Linked DNA regions of Homo sapiens: regions 1 and 2 are each linked to region 3. The links are contacts of gene promoters, found by promoter capture Hi-C in human tissues and cell types (Jung and others, 2019). All regions are on one chromosome and are shown on one strand. Each heading gives the region's core, a stretch centred on a gene start or on the middle of the fragment in contact. The rest is flanking DNA. Distances are from core to core; before and after follow the strand shown.

Region 1 (3,776 bases), core at 673-3,172, 460 kb before region 3:
TGCTGCCAGGCTTCCTCCAGTAATGTGCCCATTTTACAGATGAGCTACCAGGATTTCGCTTTGGTGACTTGCCCAAGGCTGCACTGCTCAAGAATGGAGTCCATAAAAAAATAAAATCTGAGCAGATTGGAGCTGCAAGGGGGCTCAGAGCTCTTCTAATCAAAGCTTATTTTCCAGTCAGGGAAACTGGTCCAAAAAAGGCCAGGCCTCCCGGGACCGACTGGAGCTCTTTCTCCATCATCTTGGGCCACACAACCCTCCCCAGTGGATCCATAGCCCGCTAACTAGTGAGTCCCATTGAGTGGAAATGGAAGGTGGATTAGGGAGAACAGCTCAATAAAAGAGTCCAAGTTTTGGCCGGGCGCGGTAGCTCACACCTGTAATCCCAGCACTTTGGGAGGCCGAGGCAGGCGGATCACCTGAGGTTAGGAGTTCGAGGAGTTCGAGACCAGCCTGGCCAACGTGATGAAACCCCATCTCTACTAAAAATACACACAAAAATATTAACCAGGCGCAGTGGTGTGCACCTGTAGTCTCAGCTGCTTGGGAGGCTGAGGCAGGAGAATCGCTTGAACCCGGGAGGTAGAGGTTGCAGTGAGCCAAGATTGTGCCATTGTAATGGCAGCAAGAATGAAACTCTATCTCAAAAAAAGAGTCCAAGATTCACCCAGGGGCGGATGAAAGAACTCCCTGAGCCCTGGTGGAATTCCCCAGCGTGGGAGAGGGAGAGTGCAGCCCATGGGGGCAGGTCACAGCCCACACTCTTCCTTCAGGATCTTCTCAGCTCCCAGAGCTACCTTGCCTTTCCTGGCCCTGTGGAGGGGAGAATGAGGGCAGAGCAGGGAAAGTGGAGGGGTCCTGGGGCCCTCTGGGGAGAGGGAGCTTCTGTTGCTGTCCCAGCTCATGGGGTGTCCCTTGATAACCAGGAGAGAAGACTTTTCCTTCGCCCCCTTTCCTTCCTTCTCTCCATTCCTCTCCTGCTCCAACAACCAGAAGTGTGAGGCGGAAGCCCTGAAGTTTCTTGGTTTTGCATCTGCAGAATAGGGGTGCTGCCCTCCACATCCTTCAGTCTAGGGTGCTAGGAGCCCAGCAGTCTGTGATCCTGCTATGGAGAGGCTGGGAGCCCAGCGCTCTGATAAGTTGAGGCTAACATTTCATGTATTCATCCTTCTGAGAGATGAGGCCCCTTATTGGTGCCAGGCCAGCCCTACACTAGGGGCTGGGGTGCAGCCATGAATGAAGGAGACCCACACCTGCCCCCGTGGAGTCCCAGGTGAGAAGGTCTAGTTCTCAGCCTGAGAGTCAAATGTTGTGAGTCTACAAGAGCCTTATTCCCACCACATGGCTCTGTCAGACCCGTGATGTTTCTGGAAGCAGGAAGGAGGAAAGAAGGAGTGGAGAAAGGTGGGGTCACACAAGGGCACTAATTTTAATGTTCACTTTCAGTGAATGTAATCTTCTGGGATCTAGCACACCTACAATTTTGAGTGCCTTAAAATGCCACTGCTAATAGACTCATAGCACTTGTGTCTTTCAGGGGACCGTTCTCTGAAGCATCACAAATGCTCTGTGAACATTCATTAATTAGGACCCAATTAAATAGTTATCATTGGCTGAAAATATATTTATTGCAACGCGTTTGACCAGCTACTGGTTTCCCGGCTGGGCCTCCACATGTGTAGTTGTGCTTGAATGATGGTGGCCTGACAGGAGGGGTTAGAACATCGGGTTATCCTCTGACAATGCCTGCAGGGCTGCTGGGGAGTCTGTCCGCTCAAGGGCATTGATTCTAAGGACTTTCAATGGACCCTCAGTTCTTACCCAGTCTCTGTCTTGGTGCCTTCTTCCATGCTGGGAGCTTACTACAAGGGACTGTGTATGCCAGAGTCTTCCAGAAGAAAAATTCAAGGTTGAGCAATAACCTGGTTGCTCACGCCTGAAGTCCTTCCCTTTCCTTTTTTTTTTTTTTGAGATGGAGTCTCGCTCTCTCACCCAGGCTGGAGTGCAGTGGCACAATCTCGGCTCACTGCAACCTCTGCCTCCCAGGTTCAAGCGATTCTCCTGCCTCAGTCTCCCGAATAGCTGGAACTACGGGCACACACCACCACACCCAGCTAAATTTTGTATTTTTAGTAGAGACGGGGTTTCACCATATTGGTCAGGCTGGTCTTGAACTCCTGACCTCAAGTGAGCCACCCGCCTCAGCCTCCCAAAGTGCTGGGATTACAGGCGTGAGCCACCATGCCCAGCCCTGAAGTCCCTTTTAACTCTGTCATTCGGTAGCCCCCGAAGTCTCTTACCCAGTGGTCTAGAGCTCCTCCCGTTCTCTGCCTTCTACTAGAGGAAATTTCCCTCTAGAGGAAGTGCTGCTTGGCCAGGCTCTGTGTTGGCATTGGGGTGGAGGATGAAGGAGATACGTCATATACTGAACTCTTAAGGCCCAGCCCTGTGTCAGACCGGGGCTGAACACCTTGCACTGAATCCGCTTAAGAGCTCTGAGAAGTAGAGAATGGGTTCCAGTACAACAGGGAGGCAAACTTGAGTTACCTGAAATTCCTCACCAAGATTTCCCCAGGGGACTGGGGAGGATGGGGGCTGCGTGGCTGGCATGGAGATCTAGGATTCTCTGGCCCTCCAAGAGCAGAACAGCAGGTGGGACCAGAAGCCCCCCACCCAAGACTGGGCTGATGTGGCACAAAGGAAGGAAGCACGTAGGATCAGCTGCTAGGGAGGTGTTTCAGAAGCAGACAGAGAAGGAAAGCTTGTTTTTAGCAGTGGCCACCAATGTGGAATTTTGAAGGTATTTGTGTAAAGGGGAACCCTGGGACCATGTGAGACACTGTGCCACTCCATCATTTTTTGAAAATGACTGGGACATTTAGTACCCTGCTTGTATTCAGGTTACATACGATGACAGACACCAAGCCGAATGTGCCTAAGGAAAAGGAGAACTTAGGAGTCCACGTGAAACAAAACAGGGATAAGGACAGGAATGGAGCAGCCCTGAGTAAGGATGAGATCATGAGACTCAAATACTTCCAGACCCCTAGCTGTTCCTGTCTTCCTTCTGCCTCTGAGAAACATCTCGGTCTCATTTCTGTCCACCGCATATGGGGTTTCTCTGGGGAGGTGGAGAGTAGGAGGGGTGATTTTTTATTTTTTTAAGTTTTATTTATTTATTTTTGAGACGGTGTCTCTGTTGCTCAGGCTGGAGTGCAGTGGCATGATCTCGGCTCACTGCAACCTCTGCCTCCCAGGTTCAAGCAATTCTCCTGCCTCAGCCTCCCGAGTAGCTGGGATTACAGGTGCGTGCCACCACACCTGGCTCATTTTTTTTTGGTTTTTTTGTTTTTTTTTTGAGATGGAGTCTTGCTCTGTTGCCCAGGCTGGAGTGCAGTGGTACCATCTCAGCTCACTGCAATCTCTGCCTCCCGGGTTCAAGCGATTCTCCTGCCTCAGCCTCCTGAGTAGCTGGGATTACAGGTGCGCACCACCACGCCTGGCTAATTTTTGTATTTTTAGTAGAGACAGTGTTTCATCCTGTTGGTCAGGCTGGTCTTGAACTCCTGACCTTGTGATCTGCCCACCTTGGCCTCCCAAAGTGCTGGGATTACAGGCATGAGCCATCGCGCCCGGCCAAAGCGTGATTTTTTAAAATGCTGATTTCTTTTCTTTAATGGCCATTGATTTATTTAGGGTTTCTCTTGTTTTTGTGTGTGTGTGTGTGTGTGTGTGTGTGTTTTGAGGCTGAGTCTCACTTTGTCGCCCAGGCTGGA
Region 2 (3,869 bases), core at 255-2,754, 380 kb before region 3:
CAGGTCTGAGTGGCACAGATCCAACAACCTCGTCACTGGGGCTGCCTAATCTTCCATGGACTCTGTGGGTGCCCCTTGGATCAGCGAAGCATCCGGGGTCCCCCGGGGGCAGGGGCTATAGGGGCAATCTCTTAAGGCTCCACTGTGAGGAGGGCCCCATGACTTCTCCAGCCCACAGCAAGGATCCCCCACCCCCACTACTGACTATGAAATGCAGGCTGCAGGGAGTCACAGCAGGAGGGACCGTGGGCAGACAGGGCTGCAAAGTTCGGCCTGCCTCGAGGCTCCAGCAGGGGAGCTCAGGACGGGTTGGGAGCAAAGTCTGGGAGAGGGAGAGGGGCTCCCCCCAGGCGTTCTGTGCTTTCATCCCAGCTCAGCACCCATGTCAGCCCCAGAACCTCCCCCAGGCTTCCACATTCAAAGCTCCAGCTGCAGAGGGTGCTGACCTCGCCCCTGTGGGGGTAGGGGGCGAAAGGGGGCTTAGGGGCAAGCCAGATGGTGATATGGAGACAAACTGCATAGCTCCTCGGTAACTCTCAGGCCCGTGTTTCACAGGTGAGGACACCAAGACCAGGGGCGTGAAGCCACTGGTCCAGGGTCACCCAGCTGTTGATGGGTGCGCCAGCCCCTGATGGTCCAGGATGAGGAGCACGTGACGCTCTCAGGCCACAGAACGACCGCACTGGAGGCAGCAGCCGTGGCTGTGAGCCTGCCTGTTCCCCAGGGTTCTTGACTCTCTGGAAGCTTCCCTTTGTGGGAAACCTTTGTGCACCCAGGCTTTTGGACAAGTGACACTTGTTTGTACAAGCAGGAGTGGTTTGGATCAAGGGATCGAGGTGATAGCAAGAGCCACTCTGCCTCCCTGAGCACCCGCAAAGCCCTGCTCTGGGCCTCACATGTGGTTTTTGTTTTGTTTTGTTTTGAAACAGGGTCGGGCTCTGTCACCCAGGCTGGAGTGCAGTGGCATGATCACGGCTCACTGCAGCCTCAACCTCGCAGGTTTACACAACCCTCCCACCTCAGCCTCCCGAGTAGCTGGGACTTTTGTTTTGTTTTGTTTTGTTTTTAATTTTTTGTAGAGATAGGGTCTTCCTATGTTGCCCAGGCTGGTCTCAAACTCTTGGGTTCAAGTGATCCTCCTGCTATGGCCTCCCAAAGTATTGGGATTATAGGCATGAGCCACCACGCCAGACCCACATGCGTTTTATCATAGGATGTCCTGGCTATCCTGGAAGGTGAATGCTGCTATTATATCCGTTTTCAGATAGAAAAAAATGAGGCTTAGGGAGATGTGGTGACTTGCCTCAGATCTCACAGAACCAAGCATGAGAACTAGGATCAGAATCCACTTTTCCTTGACCTTAGAGATGGTCTCAACCCGACTTGTATCAGCCAGATTTTTCCAGATTCAGGAGTGTGGATGTTTTCCATGTCGGATTTTGCTATGAATAGAATTCTGAGTCTCAAACAGTGTGCTCTTTGCTGTATGCCAGTGCTACCTCCACCTGCCTACTTATTTATCCGCCCATCCTCCCATCCATGTATCTGCCCCTCCACCCACTCATCTGCTGATCCATCTGCTGATCCATCCATCCACCCACCCTTCTATCCACCCGTCCGTTCACTTATCCACTCACCACCCAACTATCCAAGACCTCACTCACCAATCCATCTTCCCATCTACACATCCATCCACTCATCCATCATCCATCCATCCATCCATCTATCCATCCAACCATCCACCCATCTACTCATCCATTCATCCACCCCTCCGTCCACTCATCCATCCATCCACGCACCCATCTACTCATCCATCCATCCACCCATCCATATACCCACTCATCCATACATTCATCCACTCACCACCCACCCATATAGTCATCCACCCTCCACTCATCCATCCATCCATCCATCCGTCCATCCATATACCCTCCCACTCATCCATCCATCCATCTACTCATCCATTCATCCACCCATCCATCCACTCACCCATCCATCCATCCATCCACCCATCTACTCATCCATCCATCCATCCATTCATATACCTACCCATCCACACATTCATCCACTCACCACCCACCCATATAGTCATCCACCCTCCACTCACCCATCTATCCATCCATCCATCCATCCACTCATCCATCCACATATCCACCCATCCATTCACCTATCTATGCACCCATCCATCCAGACATGCATCCACTCACACCACCCACCCATCCATCATTCATCCACCATCCATCCATTCAACCATCTGTCTATGTACCCACCCATCCACACATTCATCTACTCACCACCCACCCATATCCCTCCACTCATCCATCCATCCGTCCATCCATCCATCCACCCATCTACTCATCCATCCATCCATCTACCCATCCATCCACCTATCTATGCACTCACCCTTCCACACACTCATCCACTCACCACCCACTCATACAGCCATCCACCCTCCATTCACCCACCCATCCATCATCCATCCATCCAGCCAACCATCACCCATTCACCCATTCTCAATCCACGCATGTTTCCATCCATCCACCTACCACTGCCCACCATCCATTCATTTTATTTTTATTCTGAGCCTTGCTCCTACACCTTTTGGTTCTGAAACATATGCTTCTGTGAGCTGACTGCTGATACTGTCCCTGTGGAAGTCACTGACTCCCACCCCTGGCTTAGCACACCAGTTCTGACAGGTCCCACCAAGGCTGCAACTCCCACGTAAGAGGGTCAAGCCCCCCTTCTTCCCGCCTCACCTCCACTTGGGTGGGAATTAGACTCTGGGTTCTTTTCTTTCCTTCCTTTCCGGAGTCACTCACTTCTCCACCTGGGTATTTCAGCCCCAAGATAGAGGCCTCAAAAATGTGGAAAAAGAACAAGCCACTAGCTCACTCTCAGAGCCTCACCACCCTGCAAAAGGACATCGATTATCAGGGCACAGGGGAGCATGCCATGGGCACCTGAGCCAGTCCTGGGACCAGGCACTAGCAGGACAAGCTGGTCTGGAACTGGGCAGCCTCCACATCTGCTTCCAACCTGCTGTGTGGCCCTTGACAACAGAATAAGAATAATCGCTCCTGTCCTTCTGAGGGTTGGAAGGGAAAACATGGAGGCTTTAAACAGTGAGAGCGCTTCAGCCCTTCAGTGACAGGGCATAGAAAGCCCTGGGGGAGGAGAAGGAAGGGCAGGGGAGGAGAGGGAAGGGAGGGGGGAAGAGGAAGGGACTGACTTCCTTGAGTACTTACTATGTGTCTGCAAGGTAGCAGGTGTTCCCATCTCTTCATCTCACTGGATTCCCCAACAACTCTATGCAGCTGGCATTCTATCCCCTAGCACACACGCTTCACCGATGGGGAAGCTGAGGCTCAGAGAGGGCCGGCAACTTCTCCAAGGTCACACAGCTCCCACAGGCTAGATCTGGGACACCAGCCCCGGCCCCTCGGTCTGACTCCAGAGTTTGGCACCTTTGCCTGTGTCCCCACCCTGAGCATCTCCCCCTGAAGGTGATGGCAGGGCAGAAAGTGCCATCAGCACTCGCCTCTAAGGCAGCTTTGGAGGTTCATGCAGCCATTCAGTTAACAAATATGCATCCACTCCCTCTCTGGGTTAGGCCTCTCCCCTCCTCCTTGGGGCTCCCTGGTGCGGGCTGCTGTAGGGACTGATCTCAGCTGGCAAAGCCCTGCTTCACCCAGGCTCAAAAAAGAGTCCTGCTGCCGTCCAGCCTGAAGGAGTGGGGGCCACAGGCTCCCAGAACCGAGGCTGGGGAGGCAGGAGGCAGAGCTGTCAGCTCAGAGCAGACTCCTCTCATCAGCATGGGGCCCCAGCCTCCCAGCTTAAAGATCGCCTCGGGCGCTCTCTTAAAGATG
Region 3 (3,715 bases), core at 345-2,844:
AACCATGGAAGCATTAATAGGGGACTAGACCTCACCAGATGCTCCAGGCTCAGCCAGGTCCATCACAGCCTGTATCATGCTGCACACAACTGCCTGCCAGGTTCCTTCTGGCTTGTTGGATTGTGAGCACTCCAAGAAGCTACTCTGAGGCCAGGAGGGGAAGCTGTGAAGGTGCAGAGGCCTTAGCAAGTCTTTCCCCACCTCCAGGCTTTGGCTTTCCTCTTATAAAGCAGCTGGTTTTCATAGTGCAGGAATGCAGGGATATTTCAGGCCTGTTAAGCATTCTAAAAACCAGAGCTAGCCCAGGGCCTAGCACTCAGAAGTGTTCAGTGGATATTGACTGAATGAATGAATGGATGAATGAATGGTAGACAGGCAGGCAGGCAGGGCCCAGGACCTGGCAGGGCCATACCACCCCCAGTACAACCCAGAACACCAGCGTCAACGTTCTTTGGCATTCAGTCCTGGTGCCCTCAGCGGACCCAGGTTCTCACATCTCGCAAGACAGCAGCATGAGCAGGCCCTTCCCAGGCAACCAGGGCTCAATGAGGGGCTCCAGCCTTCCCTGGCACTCAACCATCTTACCCAGGGAGGGTCTTGCAAGGTGGGATAACATTAACTGCAGGTATTTACTGAACGCTTACTGCATGCCGGGCACTGTACTCAGCCCTTCTTGTGCCTCCTGCTATTTGATGCTCATACCATCACCAGAAGGTAAGCACTGTAATCAGTCCCACTTTAGAGATGAATTAACTTAAGCAGAGGCAGGCACCTGCACAAGGCCTCAGCCTCAACTGGAGCCCAGATGGGTCTGACCCCCACGCCCAGGCTCTGCGCCACTCTTACTAGACAGCCTCCAGAACGCCGCTAATGGACCTCTCAACTGGAAAGCCCTGCACTTCGAGAGGTGTGTCTGATGGGAAGCAACAGAAGTCAAGTTCCCGGAGGCTGCCCGCCCCCTCATCGGGTCCTCTCTGTTGTGGAATCGTGCCCTGCTCAGGGCGTGGCACCACAAGTACTCAAAAGCCTGGCTTCGGCTTGCACACTCCCAGCAACGGGGAGCTCTTTCTCTTACAAGCAGCCCAAAGCACTGTTCGAAGGAAACAAGACACTCCCTGCACGCTGGAACAGGAGTGCGGCCTCTCTGGGACAGGGGAGGGCGGGGAAGAAGGGCCAAGGTCCAGGCCAGGGATCTTTTCTCGCCTCACACAGATCCTCAACCCATTTCAGCCCACCGGCGCCCCGGGACCCGGGGGAGCGCCCTGGCCGCGCAGCCGCAGAGTGCGCGAGCGAGCGCCTCACAATTTCGCCCAGCTCATCCTCGCACCACTGCGCCTGCGCGGCGCGCGCGCCGGCCGAGCCCCTCCGTGGTTCACTATTTGACAGTTCCCACCCCGGTCCCCCGGCGCCCCCTCCGCGGGCTCGAGCAGGCCGGAGCGCCCGGGACTGAGAGGCCGTCCCTGGGAAGGCGTCCTTGGAGCCGGGACCGCCTTTTACCTGCAGGATATTCGACGTGGGTGAGGGTCACCGGCCGCCATGAAGCGGGGAGCGAGCACTGTCCGTCCGCTGCCATCTTACCCGGAGACCGGGCTTCTTCGAGCAGCCAATGGGGAGCCAGGGGGGCGGTGGTCCTGACCTATCACGCCGGGGAGGCGCCGTGCACCCAATCGGAGGCCAATATAGGTAGCGGCGCAGCCATTCAGCGTGCAGGCCGTGGGGGCTGGCCCGAGCGGCGAATCAGAGAGCGGGGCCCCTGGGAGCCAACGAGCCGCCCCAGCTGGCGCCCAATCTGGGGCGAGCGCAGGTAGGCATCTGGCCAATCAGAGAAGGGGAGGGTTCCAGCACCGAACAGGGAGCATAACAGCCAATCAGAAGGTGAGGCTGCCTCAGCTTGTGGGCAGGGCGGGCCAATCAGGCGCTGGCTTTGGGGGCGTGTTGAACTTTGGTGGGAGCTTTGGTTCGGCTGGGACCTGCGCCCTGAATGAAGGCTTCCCTGGTACCCCCTGCCGATCCGCGGTCTTGGGGACCTGCGCGTCCGATAGCGCGTGCTCGAAGAGGAGAGGCAACCTCAGCTCCAGGGGGTTTGAACCGACCCACTTTCAGTTACGAGTAAACTGAGACCAGAGAGCAGAGGGGGCTTATTTCCCTCTGCCCCATACTGGCCGGCGAAAGGGCAAGTCACACAGAGCAGGCGACCTTTTTGTCAAAAGTGTGTGGGGCGGGGCGCGCAGTAGGCGCCCTAAACGCTGGACTGAACAGAGAAGCTTAATTGATACTTAAGAGTGGAAGCTTAGCTACAGTTAAGGACTCCTTCCTCCTTTCATTCATTTAATAAAGATTTATTGATTCAGTCACGTCTATGCTACTTAATGAGGCGTCTTGGGAGCATTTCAAACAAGAAGTCGGTTTTCCACCTACCCCTCAGTTTTCCCAAGACATTCCTGCGTGAACAGCCACACCTTCCCACCCGCCTTCACCTCTCCTACCCGACTCTGTCTCTGGCTGGATTGGATTACAGTGCAGGTAAGGTGGGCTGGGAGGGCTCAGCCTCTTGTCTCCTGCCGCTAGCATGTGCTGTTTTTGTCTGTTTGTTTGTTTTTTGAGACAGGGTCTTGCTCTGAGGCCCAGGCTGGAGTGCAGTGGAACGATCTTGCTCAGCCTCCTGGGTCCAAGTGATTCTCCTGTCTCAGCCTCCCGAGTAGCTGTGACTACAGGCGCGCACCACCGCATCCGGCTAATTTTTGCATTTTTAGTAGAGACCGGGTCTTACCATGTTGGGCAGGCTGGTCTCGAACTCCTGGCCTCAGGTGATCCACCTGCCTCGGCTCCCAAAATGCTGAGATTACAAGCGTGAGCCGCCATGCCCAGCTAATTTTTTTTTTTTTTTTTTGAGACGGAGTCTCGCTCTGTTGCCCAGGCTGGAGTGCAGTGGCACGCCCGGCTAATTTTCGTACTTTTCGTAGAGACGGGGTTTCACCGTGTTGGTCAGGATGGTCTTGATCTCCTGACCTCGTGATCCGCCCACCTCGGCCTCCCAAAGTGCTGGGATTACAGGTGTGAGCCACCGCCCCTGGCCACCATGTGCTGTTTTGCTGCGTGGGATGTACTGCCTCTCCTGCCCTACTTTGCCCGGCCCAATCTGGTTCAGGTGTCTCCTCGGCTTACAGGTTTCCACAGTCAAGTGAGGGGCCAGTACTGGGCTCTCACGGTTGCATTTCCTGTCCTTTCTCAGCCCTGACCTCACTGGACTGTAATCGGCTCCCTATCCCTCCCAGTCAGCAGCGGCTCTCAGATTCATGGAGTGCTGAGATCAGCCTGTAGAAAACACAGATTCCTGGGTCACAATGGGGCCTGGGTTGATCCAGTAGGTCTGAGTTGGAGCCCAGGTGTCTGCATTCTTATGTGCTCTGGTGGTTCTGATACAGGTGGTTACAGCCACCACTGGAGAAACCCTGGGCAACATGAGGACAGGGCCTGGTACATCCTGAGCCTGGTCCAGACCAGACCTAGAGCAAGTGTCTGATAAGTGACACGAGCGCCCCTGAGGTGAGTTGAGAATTACCCAGGAAATCCCACTGAGAGTGGCTCTTTCTGCGAGTGGCCAGGCCAGTAGAGCGGGGACCGTGAGCTGGCCTGTGTGGCCGGAGATGATGGCGACTCAGAACCCACCAAAGAGCCCAGAAGGCCCACTGCCCTGCTGTGCGCACTCCCAGCC

Evidence for each region. The method cuts DNA at HindIII sites, captures the fragments that hold promoters and counts their contacts. A contact is called where the count stands out against the background at its distance.
Region 1: a contact is called between a fragment that was not itself captured here and the fragment with the promoter of DOLPP1 in region 3, in 4 of the 25 tissues and cell types used here (IMR-90 fibroblasts, dorsolateral prefrontal cortex, lymphoblastoid cells and 1 more).
Region 2: a contact is called between a fragment that was not itself captured here and the fragment with the promoter of DOLPP1 in region 3, in 1 of the 25 tissues and cell types used here (hippocampus).

The regions. Positions count from the first base shown.
Region 1 is chr9:129,544,208-129,547,983 of GRCh38, reverse strand. No RefSeq gene overlaps it. Among named protein-coding and RNA genes, the nearest start is that of LINC00963, 57 kb to the right of the region's middle. The HindIII fragment of the contact is 4,849 bases long and covers 1-3,776 here.
Region 2 is chr9:129,455,330-129,459,198 of GRCh38, reverse strand. No RefSeq gene overlaps it. Among named protein-coding and RNA genes, the nearest start is that of LINC00963, 31 kb to the left of the region's middle. RefSeq lists enhancers at 1-87, 464-513. The HindIII fragment of the contact is 4,259 bases long and covers 1-3,633 here.
Region 3 is chr9:129,078,990-129,082,704 of GRCh38, reverse strand. DOLPP1 (dolichyldiphosphatase 1) reads right to left here and starts at 1,594. Exons shown (of 8, transcript NM_020438.5): 1 at 1,498-1,594. The coding sequence starts at 1,573. RefSeq lists a silencer at 1,167-1,896. The HindIII fragment of the contact is 10,069 bases long and covers 1-3,715 here.